2 separate regions of the Homo sapiens genome follow, and region 2 is linked to region 1. Evidence: promoter capture Hi-C in human tissues and cell types (Jung and others, 2019). All regions are on one chromosome and are shown on one strand. Each heading gives the region's core, a stretch centred on a gene start or on the middle of the fragment in contact. The rest is flanking DNA. Distances are from core to core; before and after follow the strand shown. Region 1 holds the start of FASTKD5 (FAST kinase domains 5). Region 2 overlaps DNAAF9 (dynein axonemal assembly factor 9).

What was found. The method cuts DNA at HindIII sites, captures the fragments that hold promoters and counts their contacts. A contact is called where the count stands out against the background at its distance.
Region 2: a contact is called between a fragment that was not itself captured here and the fragment with the promoter of FASTKD5 in region 1, in 1 of the 25 tissues and cell types used here (stomach).

The regions. Positions count from the first base shown.
Region 1 is chr20:3,157,123-3,162,934 of GRCh38, reverse strand. FASTKD5 (FAST kinase domains 5) reads left to right here and starts at 3,070. Exons shown (of 2, transcript NM_021826.5): 1 at 3,070-3,169. It overlaps UBOX5 (U-box domain containing 5), which reads left to right and starts at 3,070. Exons shown (of 5, transcript NM_014948.4): 1 at 3,070-3,169. LZTS3 (leucine zipper tumor suppressor family member 3) reads left to right here. Exons shown (of 5, transcript NM_001365618.1): 5 at 1-318. The HindIII fragment of the contact is 11,638 bases long and covers 1-5,812 here.
Region 2 is chr20:3,305,257-3,311,068 of GRCh38, reverse strand. The region is part of intron 20 of DNAAF9 (dynein axonemal assembly factor 9); the gene reads left to right. Among named protein-coding and RNA genes, the nearest start is that of SLC4A11, 69 kb to the right of the region's middle. The HindIII fragment of the contact is 8,715 bases long and covers 1-5,812 here.

The DNA of each region.
Region 1 (5,812 bases), core at 1,821-4,320:
CTGCACAGCCCTTCTGGGTGGTCCTCACCAGGTCTCTGAGCTGGGTGGGAGGCCATCCTGGCGACCACTGCCCATTCCATTCACCCCTCACTGTACCTGCCCTAGAACCTGGGCCTAGGCCACAGGGGCAGGGAGAAGAGAAGGCATTAGTAAGAAAAAAATAGAAAAAAATATGAACAGACTCAGCTTTGGGACGTCCAACCACAAAAGAAATTATATATAAATATATATAAATATATATCTCTACCATATGTGATGGAAAGACTTTTTGTTTTCCTTTCCCAAAGAAATAAAACGGAAAAAGCCTCTTGAGTGGTATTCTTTGGCCTGCTTGTGTCTTTGCAGGTGCGGGAGGTGAGGCCCGGGTGGGGGATGGGGGCAAAGCTGGAGTAAACAGATTTCCCAGAGGAGGCATGAGACTGGAGGTGCTCACTGGGCCGTGCTAGGAGGTTGGCCCAAAGCCCAAGTTCTGCCACGTTGCCCGGGAAGAGTCGTGGTGCCATGTATATGCCCAGTGGGGCTTTCTCTTCAGCTCAGACTGTTGCCAAAGGGGTTAAAAGCTGGCTCCAGCTCAGAATCTGGACACTAAGCTGCTAGCCAGAAAACAGGTGACGCAGGACAGCTAGATGCAGCCTGCAGTCGCCTAAGCCACCTTACAGCAACTGGTAGATGTTTGCGGGCTGAATGGATAGAAGTGAAGACTGGGAACAGGTTTGCAATTAATGGCGAAGCCCCAAAGGCAAAAGGGACCCAAGCGTGCTGCACAGCAGAGAGCTTCCCTTTACAACAGTTCCTCTGTCATCCTCTCAAAGCACACAATCAAGAATGCACTCTGCTGTAAGTAATCAAAGGACCTCAAAGAGTGGTTTATTTTTCCCCAACCTGACAAGAAATCCGGAGGTGGTGTCATGGTTGTTGGATCCTCGGGGACCTAGATTTTCATCCTCCCACTGTTCCATCCTTGGCATGTTGTTCCCTCCTTACCACAAAGTGGCTGCCACAGCTCCATGAAGACATTGAGGCGGCCCTACTTTATCATGAAAAGTAAAAGCTTTCCCAGAGCCCTCCCAGGACCCTTCCCTTTAAGTCCTGTTGGCCAGAACTGAGCCACATGCTCCTCCCACTTCAAGGGAGAATGGGAATTTGAGTATTACAAAGAGAAACAGGATTGTCATGGCTGCCTAGGAACAAACATGGTTCATTCCTTGGGGGCAGGCTCTCTGCTTTCTCTGGGTTCTACTGGCAAGGACAGAGTCATAACAATGAATAGTGTTTGCCCTGGTCTGGCCTGAGGGAGAGAACCCTCCCTAAGCAGTGGTGTCTGTGGTCTGGGGCTCCAGATATTCAAACAGCGCTGTCTCCAGAGCTCAGGAGTTGGGATGTCAGGCTTGCCCCTCCTGGCAGGGACGTGTTCTTCCTACATTGATTTTGTCTTCCCTACAAGATAGGCCCTGGAGGGAGCATGATTTCTCAGCTCTCCTTCACACCCCTTAGAGCCAAGGCATTGACAAGATATGAAGACCCTGATCAGCAGATCTCAAGTGCCCTCAGGAATGGCAGCCTGGGGCCAGGACTTTCTGATAGGTAGAGGTTTAGTAGAGTCTCTTTCTTGTCTAGGTACCTATACTGACAGCTGTGTCAATATATGTACCCAGTAGGACCCAGCCCTCCTTCTTAGGGTGGTGGAGAATCACCCTGGCTCATGCTCCATAGCTCTGGCCTCGCTAAGCCCCAGCTCCACATCCATTTCTCTCAGCAGGCTCATCTATCCATCATGTCACTAGCTCTTTTCCTGAGAGCACTTTACAGATACATCTCTATTATAAATGCATTAAAAAAAAAAAAAGATGGAGTCTCACTGTTGCCCCGGCTGGAGTGCAGTGGTGCAATCTCGGCTCACTGCAACCTCTACCTCCTGCGTTCAAGTGATTCTCCTGCCTTAGCCTCCCAAGTAGCTGGGGTTACAGGTGCACGCCACCATGCCCCGCTAATTTTTTTTTGTATTTTTAGTAGAGACGAGGTTTCACCATGTTGGCCAGGCCGGTCTCCAACACCGGGGATTACAGGTGTGAGCCACCACACCCGACCAATGCATTGTTAAAATTAGACAGGTGTGGTGGTGCATGCCTGTGGTCTTAGCTACTCAGGAGGCTGAGGCAGGAGGATCACTTGAACCCAGGAGGTTGAGGCTGCAGTGAGCCATGATTGCACCATTGCACCCCAGCCTGGGCAATGGGGCAAGACTTTGTCTCAAAAAAAAAAAAAATGTATTGTTTTTCTCACTGTACAGGCTTAGAGAATTTATGTGGGCCGGGTGCGATGGCTCATACCTGTAATCCCAGTACTTTCGGAGGCTGAGGCGGCAGTATTGCATGAGCCCAGGAGTTCGAGACTAGCCTGGGCAACATAGGAAGACACTGCCATCCCCGTCTCTATGAAAATAATAATAATAATATAACAAGAATGAATTTATGTGACTTCTCCAAGGCCATAAAACCCTGAGTGGTGGTCCTCAGATTTGAACATGTGTCTAAGCTACTTACTTTTTTTTTTTTTTTTTTTTTTTTAGATGGAGTCTCGCTCTGTGTCCCAGAGCTGGAGTACAGGGGTGCCCAGACTGGAGTACAGTGGCGAGATATCGGCTCACTGCAACCTCCGCCTCCCGGGTTCAAGCGACTCTCCTGCTTCCGCTTCCTGAATAGCTGGATTATAGGCGTGCGCCACCACGCCCGGCTAATTTTTGTATTTTTAGTAGAGACGGGGGTTTCACCACGTTAGCCAGGCTGGTCTCGAACTCCTGAACTCAGGTGATCCGCCCGCCTTGGCCTCCCAAAGTACTGGGATTACAGGCGTGAGCCACCGCGCCGGGACTAAGCTGCTTAATGACTTCCAGAGCGATCCATCCAGGAAGGTGTTTTCCCTCTGCAGGTCCTAGACTCCCCCTGCCTCCTCAACAACGTCCTCCAGTGGAAAATGTCCTTGGGAAACGCTGACAGAGTCTTTTGAGCCTCGGCCGCATCCGTCACTCGCGCAGCAGGCGGAAGTAGCGGGCAGTTGGCCGGAAGTGGGGCTGTGAGGCTCGGAGTCGCCGGAGGAGCCAGTATCTGTGTCGCCGCCGCCCGCGGCGTCCCCGGTTTGGTGTTGCGGCGCCCACCTTCGGGAGGATCAGGTGAGTGGCGGCGGCCGGGGAGGAGGTCGCGGCGGCCTCTTTCCGCGTTCACGACCGTCCTGGGCCTTGGCCTGTGCCTCCTGTCCTCCCGGCCGGCCCAGAGCTGGAGCGCATCGAGGCCTTGTTCAGCTCTTGGCCTGGGTTGCCAGTGCCTCTCGCAGGCCTGGCTGTGGTGAGAACTTCAGTGACTCTCGCCGCTCCTGAGTTTGTGATCTTTGGCAGGGGGCTTATCTGACCCTTGATTTTTTTTCCTCTGTGAAATGGAGATCGTAACAGTACTTGTCTCACGGTGCTGTTAAGAGAATGTAGTCAGATATTCTGCCGCGCCTCTCATCACACTTTGATGTGCCTGCGAATCGCTTAGAGATTCTGATTCTGTAGGACTGGGGTGGGTTCTGAGATAACTGTGTTCCTAACTAGATTCCAGACGAGGCTGAAGCCTCTGGCACGCAGACCACACACTGAGTAGCAAGGCCCTACAGTATGTTGCTTAGCATTTGGGATGCGGAGTCTTCGGTAAACATCAGTATGATAGGATATATACCTTCCCCCCATTTTTAGCAGTTTCTCGTTGCACAAGCCTAAGGGTAGTATTGATGGCCTTCTCCCTTTTTCTTTCCGTGGGTAAGAATAGTTGCTCTTTCTCTTTCTGTGCAAACCGTGACACAGCTCTTCTGTCTTGACTCAGGGAACTTTGGGTCCCCTCATATCAGCTGTGTTCATCAGTCTTGGGTGATGCTTCACTGATCAGACCCTTGGACAGTGCTTCATCCTGTGGAGCTGATAGCCAGCTGCGTTAGCACCAACTGTGGCTGGCGTTTTGTGCTCCAGTCATTTGTTGCTGCTGGAATCTGAATTCACGTTTTCTACACTTTGTGAATAGTAAGAATGGCTGCCTTTCCAGAACTAGATTCTGTAGCTCACTGACCTGAATGGTCCTGGGCAAGTCCTTGGATAGTTTGCTACTACCTGGTAGACTAAAATAAAATCTGGGCCGGACACAGTGGCTCACGCCTGTAATCCCAGCACTTTGGGAGGTCAAGGCGGGCGGATCACGAGGTCAGGAGATCGAGACCATCTTGGCTAATATGGTGAAACCCCGTCTCTACTAAAAATACAAAAAAATAGCTGGGCGTGGTGGCGGGCGCCTGTAGTCCCAGCTACTCTGGAGGCTGAGGCAGGAGCGTGGCGTGAACCCCGGGAGGCGGAGTGTGCAGTGAGCCGAGATCGCGCCACTGCACTCCAGCCTGGGCGAGAGAGCGAGAGTCCGTCTCAAATAAATGAATAAATAAATAAATAAATAAGTAAATAAAATCTGAAGACTCTGTGCTGCATAACATAACTTAAAAAGTGAGGCCTTTGGCAGTTATGCAGGTCTAATGTTTATTAGTCAGTATGATTTTCTTCCCCATCCATTGGTTTATTTTTTTAGTCCCTAATAAGGCCTTGCCATTCATCATGTGAATAAGTCAACTTTGATATAAAATAATTCTAAGGTCAGGTGCGGTGGCTCATGCCTGTAATCCCAGCACTTTGGGAGGCCGAAGTGGAAGGATTACTTGAGCCCAGGAGTTCGAGACCAACCTGGGGGCAACATAGGGAAACTCTGTCTCTACGAAAAAAACAAAAAACAAAAAAAACACACAAAAAAACAAAATGTAGCCAGGCGTGGTGGTGGGCTTGTAGTCCAAGCTACTTAGGAGGCTGAGGTGGGAGGATCGTTTGAGATCCTTGAGCGATCCTCGCCCGGGAGGTTGCCGGGGTGAGAGGTGGGGGGCAGTGGTCGAGGATGCAGTGAGCGGAGATTGCACCACTGCCCTCCAGACTGAACAACAGAGCGAGACCCTGTCTGAAAAAAAAAACAAAAGAATTCTGAAACTCCTTCTTTATTTGTCTGAAGTATGTACTATACAGCCTCTATACAGCCTTGCAAATTGTAAAAGCAGATAAAACCAAGTGTTTATTGAGCTAACAGTTATAGGTACTTGGACCATTTATTTGGGAATTTTCTCTTATGACGACTGTGTGCATGCAGCTACTTCTCTTTACCTGCCTGGATTTTGTAATTCCTCTAGAAGCCCCATTTAGATGGGCTGAGAGGACATGAGTGCCTACTGCCTGTTGTTATATGGAGAGGTTTTCTAAAGACAGGGTTTTATGAAACCCTTTAAAAGCAGTAGCTCTAACAGAATCATCTACAGGGCTTAGTCATACTATATCTACCCACATCCTTCTTGCCATTCTGATAGAGGAATAGCAGAGTCTTAAAAGAGAAGCGGAAGGGCTGTGTAGCTGAAAAAGTTTCACAAATGTTTGTGATGTGCTGTTTTTCTCCTATCAGCATGGAGTCTAGAACAAAAAGGAAGGGATGGATTGCTAGACTGAATAATTTTAGTTTGGCTTAGACCTGCGAGTGACACTGAACTTGACCTAAACACCTTTGCACTAGTGCTTCACCTTCGCAGTACTGGTAGACTCCTCTCTGAGGCCCTGCTCCCGTGTGGAAACAGAAACACAGAAGAGTCTAGCCCAGTTAACATCCACATTAACAGCTAAGGTCCTTACTGCCAGTCTCTAAGCCCTCACTAGGGGCTTTGAAGTTTTGTAGATTCTCAGCAGAATACCTCAGCACCTAGAGAAAGT
Region 2 (5,812 bases), core at 988-3,487, 150 kb before region 1:
GCAAATGTTTCTGTAGGGTTGGAATGAAGAGTAAAAATTTGGAATTTTAGTATGAGCCCACATATGGCTTTTTTTGATGAGGCCAGACTGTTTTACAAATTGATTGTCCCAAATTATACTTCCAGCAGCAGCATACAGGTATTTGAGTTTTTCCATATTCTGGCCAACACTTGCTGTTTTGCCAGTTTTGCCACTGTGGTGAGTGTGCAGTGCTGTTATTATTAGGATTTTAATTTACATTTCTCTTATTATTAGTGAACCGTCTTTATTTATTGGCCAAGCTATTATACTTCCCTTCTGTTAAATGCTTGTTCTTGTTTTTTGCTCATGTTTCTTTTAGATTGCCTTTTTCTTGTTTATTTTAGGAATTTTTTTTTTTTTCTTGAGACTAAGTCTCACTCTGTTGTCCAGGCTGGAGTGCAGTGGCGCAATCTCAGCTCACTGCAGCCTCTACCTCCCAGGTTCAAGCAATTCTCATGCCTCAGCCTCCCGAGTAGCTGGGACTACAGGCGTGCACCATCAGGCCCAGCTAATTTTTGTATTTTTAATAGAGACGGGGTTTCGCCATGTTGGCCAAGCTGGTCTTGAACTCCTGACCTCAGGTCATCTGCCCACCTCGGCCTCTCAAAGTGCTGGGATTACAGGCGTGACCCACTGCGCCTGGCCTATTTTAGGAATTCTTTCTTTCTTTCTTTCTTTCTTTCTTTCTTTCTTTCTTTCTTTCTTTCTTTCTTTTTCTTTCTCTTTCCTTTCTTTCTTTCCTTTTCTTTTTTCTTTTCTTTCTTTCCTTTCTTTCTCTTTCTTTCTCTCTCTCTCTCTCTGTTTCTCTCTCTTTCTCTCGATCATTAGTTCGTTTGTTCATCTTTCTTTTCTTTCTTGATGGAGTTTCACTCTTGTTGCCTGGGCTAGAGTGCAATGGCACGATCTTGGCTCACTGCAACCTCTGCCTCCCAGGTTTAAGCGATTCCCCTGCCTCAGCCTCCCGAGTAGCTGGGATTACAGACATGCACCACCATGCCCGGCTAATTTTGTGTTTTTAGTAGAGGTAGGGTTTCTCTATGTCGGTCAGGCTGGTCTCAATCTCCCGACTTCAGGTGATCTGCCTGCCACAGCCTCCCAAAGTTCTGGGATTACACGTGAGCCACTGCGCCCAGCCAGGAATTCTTTATAGATTTTGGATACTAATTCTTTGTCAATTCAGTATATTGCAAATATTTTCTTTCACCTGGTGGCTTGTCTTTTTATTTTATTTCTGATGCTTTTTCATGAATAAAAGTTCTTAGTTTTAATGTAATCAGGATAATTAATCATTTCCTATGTGATTCATATATTTTAGATCTATTGAGACTTTTCTGTTGAATTATAAAAATATAATTTTTCAAAGAATCCACCTGGATTGCTCTGTGAAAGTGATATGAGATAGAAGTCTAAGTTCATTTTTTAAATGTAGGTAGCCACCTGTCTCAGCAAAGTTATTGAAAAATCATTGTTTTCCCACTGATCGGCAGTGCCAGCTTTGTTATAAATCAAGTCTCTTTATGTGTGCATCTATTAATAGGCTCTCTGTTCTGTTCCATTGGGAAAGAAAATAACACATTGTCTTATTTTAGATAGATAACATATTTCTATATGGTGACTTAGTCTGCTTGGGATGCCATAACAAAATACCACAGAGTGAGTGGATTAACAGTAGGAATTTATTTCTCACAGTCTGGAGGCTGAGAAAATTATAACACTATACTAAAAGGCATTAAAAATGACATAAACACACATCCCATTCATGGACTGGAAAACTCAGGTTTACTTACTTGACATGGTAAAAATGACAATTCTCTCCAAAGTGATCTTTAAATTTAACATAATTTCAGGAAAAAAAAAACCAACAAGTTTTTTGAAAATCCTGAAAAGCCAACATAAAAATGTCAATAACTTTGAGCAAAGTGCTAAGAACAGCCAAGATACTCCTGAAGAAGAAAAACAAGGTGGGAACTTGCCTTATCACATTAGAGACTGAATGTTTGTGTCCTCTCCAAAATTCCAGTGTTGAAGCCTTAACCCCAAAAGTGATGTTATCTGGAGATGGGGCTTTTGGAAGGAAATAGGGGTTAGATGAGGTCATGAATGTGGGACAAGGTCTGTTGGGATGTGGTGCCCTTATAAGAGCTACCAGAGAGCTTAGCCCCTACCATGTATGCATGGAGGAGGAGTCATGTGGGCATGTGGCACCACACCTGGCTAATTTTTTTTTTTTTTTAGTAGAGATGGAGTTTCACCATGTTGGCTAGGCTGGTCTCAAACTCCAGGCCTCACGTGAAGCTCCCACCTCAGTCTCCCAAAGTGCTGGGATTACAGGCGTGAGCCACTGTACCTGGCTGGAGGGAGCCACCGCACCTGGCTGGAGGGACACTTTAAAAATGAAGGTTTTGGTCTGGCACGGTGGCTCACACCTGTAATCCCAGCACTTTGGAAGGCCGAGGCGGGCAGGTCACCTGAGGTCAGGAGTTCGAGACTAGCCTGGCCAGCGTGGTGAAACCCCATCTCTACTAAAAATACAAAAATTAGCTGGACCGTGGTGGCGCATGCCTGTAATCCCAGCTACTTGGGAGGCTGAGGCACAAGAATCACTTGAACCTGGGAGGCGGAGATTGCAGTGAGCAGAGATGGCACCACTGCACTCCAGCCAAGGCAACAGAGTGAGACTCCATCTCAAAAAAAAAAAAAAAAAAAGTAAAGTTTTGTACAGCACTGAGCATGAAGGAACTGTATAGCTGCATATTACTTGTAACATAGGTCACATTCAGGAACAGAATGTCAGGAGAAGTAAGCAAGTCACAGAAGAATACATGATTAGGATTTCATTTATATAAAAACACAGACAAAACTAAGTAATACACAGTTTACAAATACATTCAAGTGTGGTAAAACCATCCAGAATTCAGGATGCTGTTCCCCCTGGGTGGAAGAGAAGGGCTCTCATTGAGGAAGGACATCCAGGGGGTTTCAACGGTGCTAGTAATGCTCAATTTCTTAGGCCCAGTGGTGAGTTCATAGACATCTGGGTTTTGTAGTTGTTGCTTTAGTTTTTTTTTTTTTTTTTTTTTAAACCTTGTGTGTACATTTCACACACATTTATAGACACAGGATGAAAATCATCTAGCCATTGCATCATAAATTTCCCCAGCAGTGATAAATGTTCCCTCCTCACATAGACTGGGCTGTTGGAAGATTTTTATTTGTACAGCCAGTTTTCTGAAAGAGGAAAGCGAAATTCTTCTTTGGCATTTGCTTGGTATTTTGGTTTACCCTGAGGGCCCATCCCTCTTTTGTTGGACTTCCAGGGATACAGAGCTCAATCAAAGACAACCAAACTGCAGTCCTCCTGGTTTTGGGACAATAATGGGAAACTTCCTCTTATCCTGGGTTTTCAGACTTACAGAATGGAGAAGGAAGGACAGAGTTCATCCACTAAGGACACCAAGGATGGCACAAAGAGTCAGGGAGATCTCCTCAGGAGTTGGCTGCCCTGGCCCCTGTGAACCCCTGCAAAGGTATGGCCCTCAGACCACTGTCTGACAGTCAAGAGTCCAGAGCAGATACCAGAAGGGTTATTGCTTCAAGCAGATGAGGATCTGAGACCAGAGCACAGGCACTGGGCCACCCAGTAAGTCACTTCACTTATCTCATGTGTGCTCTGAGAATAATGGCAGAGTTACTGCTCATAGAGCCAGGCTAAGGGGCAGCTGCGATCACAGGACAGATCACAGGACAGTACTGAAATCAGATCCTGTTTACTGAGACCTTGCCTTGGCTCATGCCCCATAATGAGCTCTTCCAGCACTGTCTTGTGAATTTGTCTTCCTCTTTTCCATTTTGTTTTGAGGCTTCAGAGTCTAGTGGGAGAGGAAATGCTGGAGATGACCTCGCTCATCCTTTCCCATCTTCCTATTGAGTAAATGGAATGTGCCAGCTTCTCCAATCTGTGCTTTTTTCTGGAAGCTTCAGGATTTTGAGCTTTGTCCAGGAGGCCTTTCAAGTGGCACTGGACTTGTTTCTAAAAAGGTTCACTTCAAAAGTACAAATGTAGAGGGATACCCAGGACAGGGAAGGGTGCAGGTACTAACCACTCAGCAGCAGGAGCAGTTTCTACCTCGTGACACCTATGGAGCCCTCTTATCTCTGGAAACAGTAAGTAGAGTCATCTTGTGGCAGGAGTTGGTGGGGTTGTGGTTTTAGGAGAGTGTTGAAGGTCTGGGATGAGCTCTGTGGGCTGATGGAAGGAGTGGGGAGACAGCAGTGAACAGGCTACGGGGCAGCACTGTGGCCTGTTGTGGTTGAGGGAGCAGAGAAGGCACATCTACAGATTCACCACAGCTGGGCTTTGGACAGGGGAGAATTGAAAGAAAAAAAACATGAGAGAACTGAAGGCACCAGCATGGTATAGTGTCTTTGGCATCAGACAAACCTGTGTTCTGTACCTGGCTCCACCACCAAGTAATGCTGTGATTTTGGGGGAAATCTCTCTAAGCTTGAGTTTTCTCATCTGTCCTATGAGAAAAAATAATACCACCTGTTACAATTGTGAAAACAGAAAACTATAATGTATGACATGTGTGGTGCTTAGTAAATACTGCGTGAAACCTGTTCCCATTCCTTTCTTTTAACAGAACAAAGATTAAAGGTTAAGTCCTGTCCCAGAGGATCTGCCCTTGATGTGGATGAGAAGAATATCAGAAATTTCTGAGCAATAGGGGAAAATGCGAATACCAATGACTGTGAAGGCTCAGTGACATCAGAGGATGGGGTGTGGGGAGGGAAACAGCTAAAAGGGGGATGGGGTGCTGGAGTCAGAGAGTAGTTGCTGGGCTGGAGATTTCAGAAGTCATGACATTCTGGGTGCAGCTTTACTGCTCTAAGAAGGAATGGGAGTGTTGGCATTGGAAGGGAAGACTGAGCACATTCAGAGTGATTTGAAATATGGCATGGTCAGGAGGGCAGTAGGTGTGAGCAGTAGAGGGAGGGGCTTGTGTCTCTAGGGGAATGAAAGTAACATGCTGTGGTGTTGGGGAGACTGGCCTGGGAGCAGCATGGAGGAACTTTAGGGTTGGTACAGGATGAGGCTGGGGCATGATTAGCCTCCTTTTCAGAGGGCCTCAGGAAAAGGCAGTGTGCACAGAAAGCCAGGCTACTTGTTGGAGGGTAGAGGTTTCCAGAGCTTGAACCTAGATAGTCGCTGGCTGTGGCTGCCACAGATGGTAAGGTTGGCATGTCCCTCTGACGGGGCATCTGGTTCTTCCATGAGAGGCAGGTGCCAGTTCTTCTTCTTGTACCTAAAAACTGCCTCCTTCTCCCTTCACTTCTCCTGTCCCCTGTGAACACATACTAACTAGGCCCCTCCCTTCCTTCTGAAACCTCACCTCCTCAGGAAGCCCTCAAAGCTTGCAGTCTCCAGATTCCTCACCCAGGATGTGAAGGCAGCCCTCAGACTCCTGGCCTTTGCTATTCTTGTCATTCCAGCCTCCAGAGCTTTGCACTGCTTTTCTGGAGCTACAACTTAAGGAATCAATTTCACTTATTTATCTCTTGGCCTTTGCCTTGGCAGTGAGGTCTTAATGACAATAAACTCAAACCTGTGCCTTGAGCTTTAAGAACTACTTCATCTCCCTCTATATGCGGAAACATGGAAAGAAAAGCTGTTACAGGAATAGAAGATTCAGCTTGGACCAGCCCCAGAGAGCAGCTTCACCTAGGAGTCTTATGGGTGCTTTGGGTGCTGCTTTTGTGTCTCCAAAGCAAGCCCAGGCCCAGCATTAAT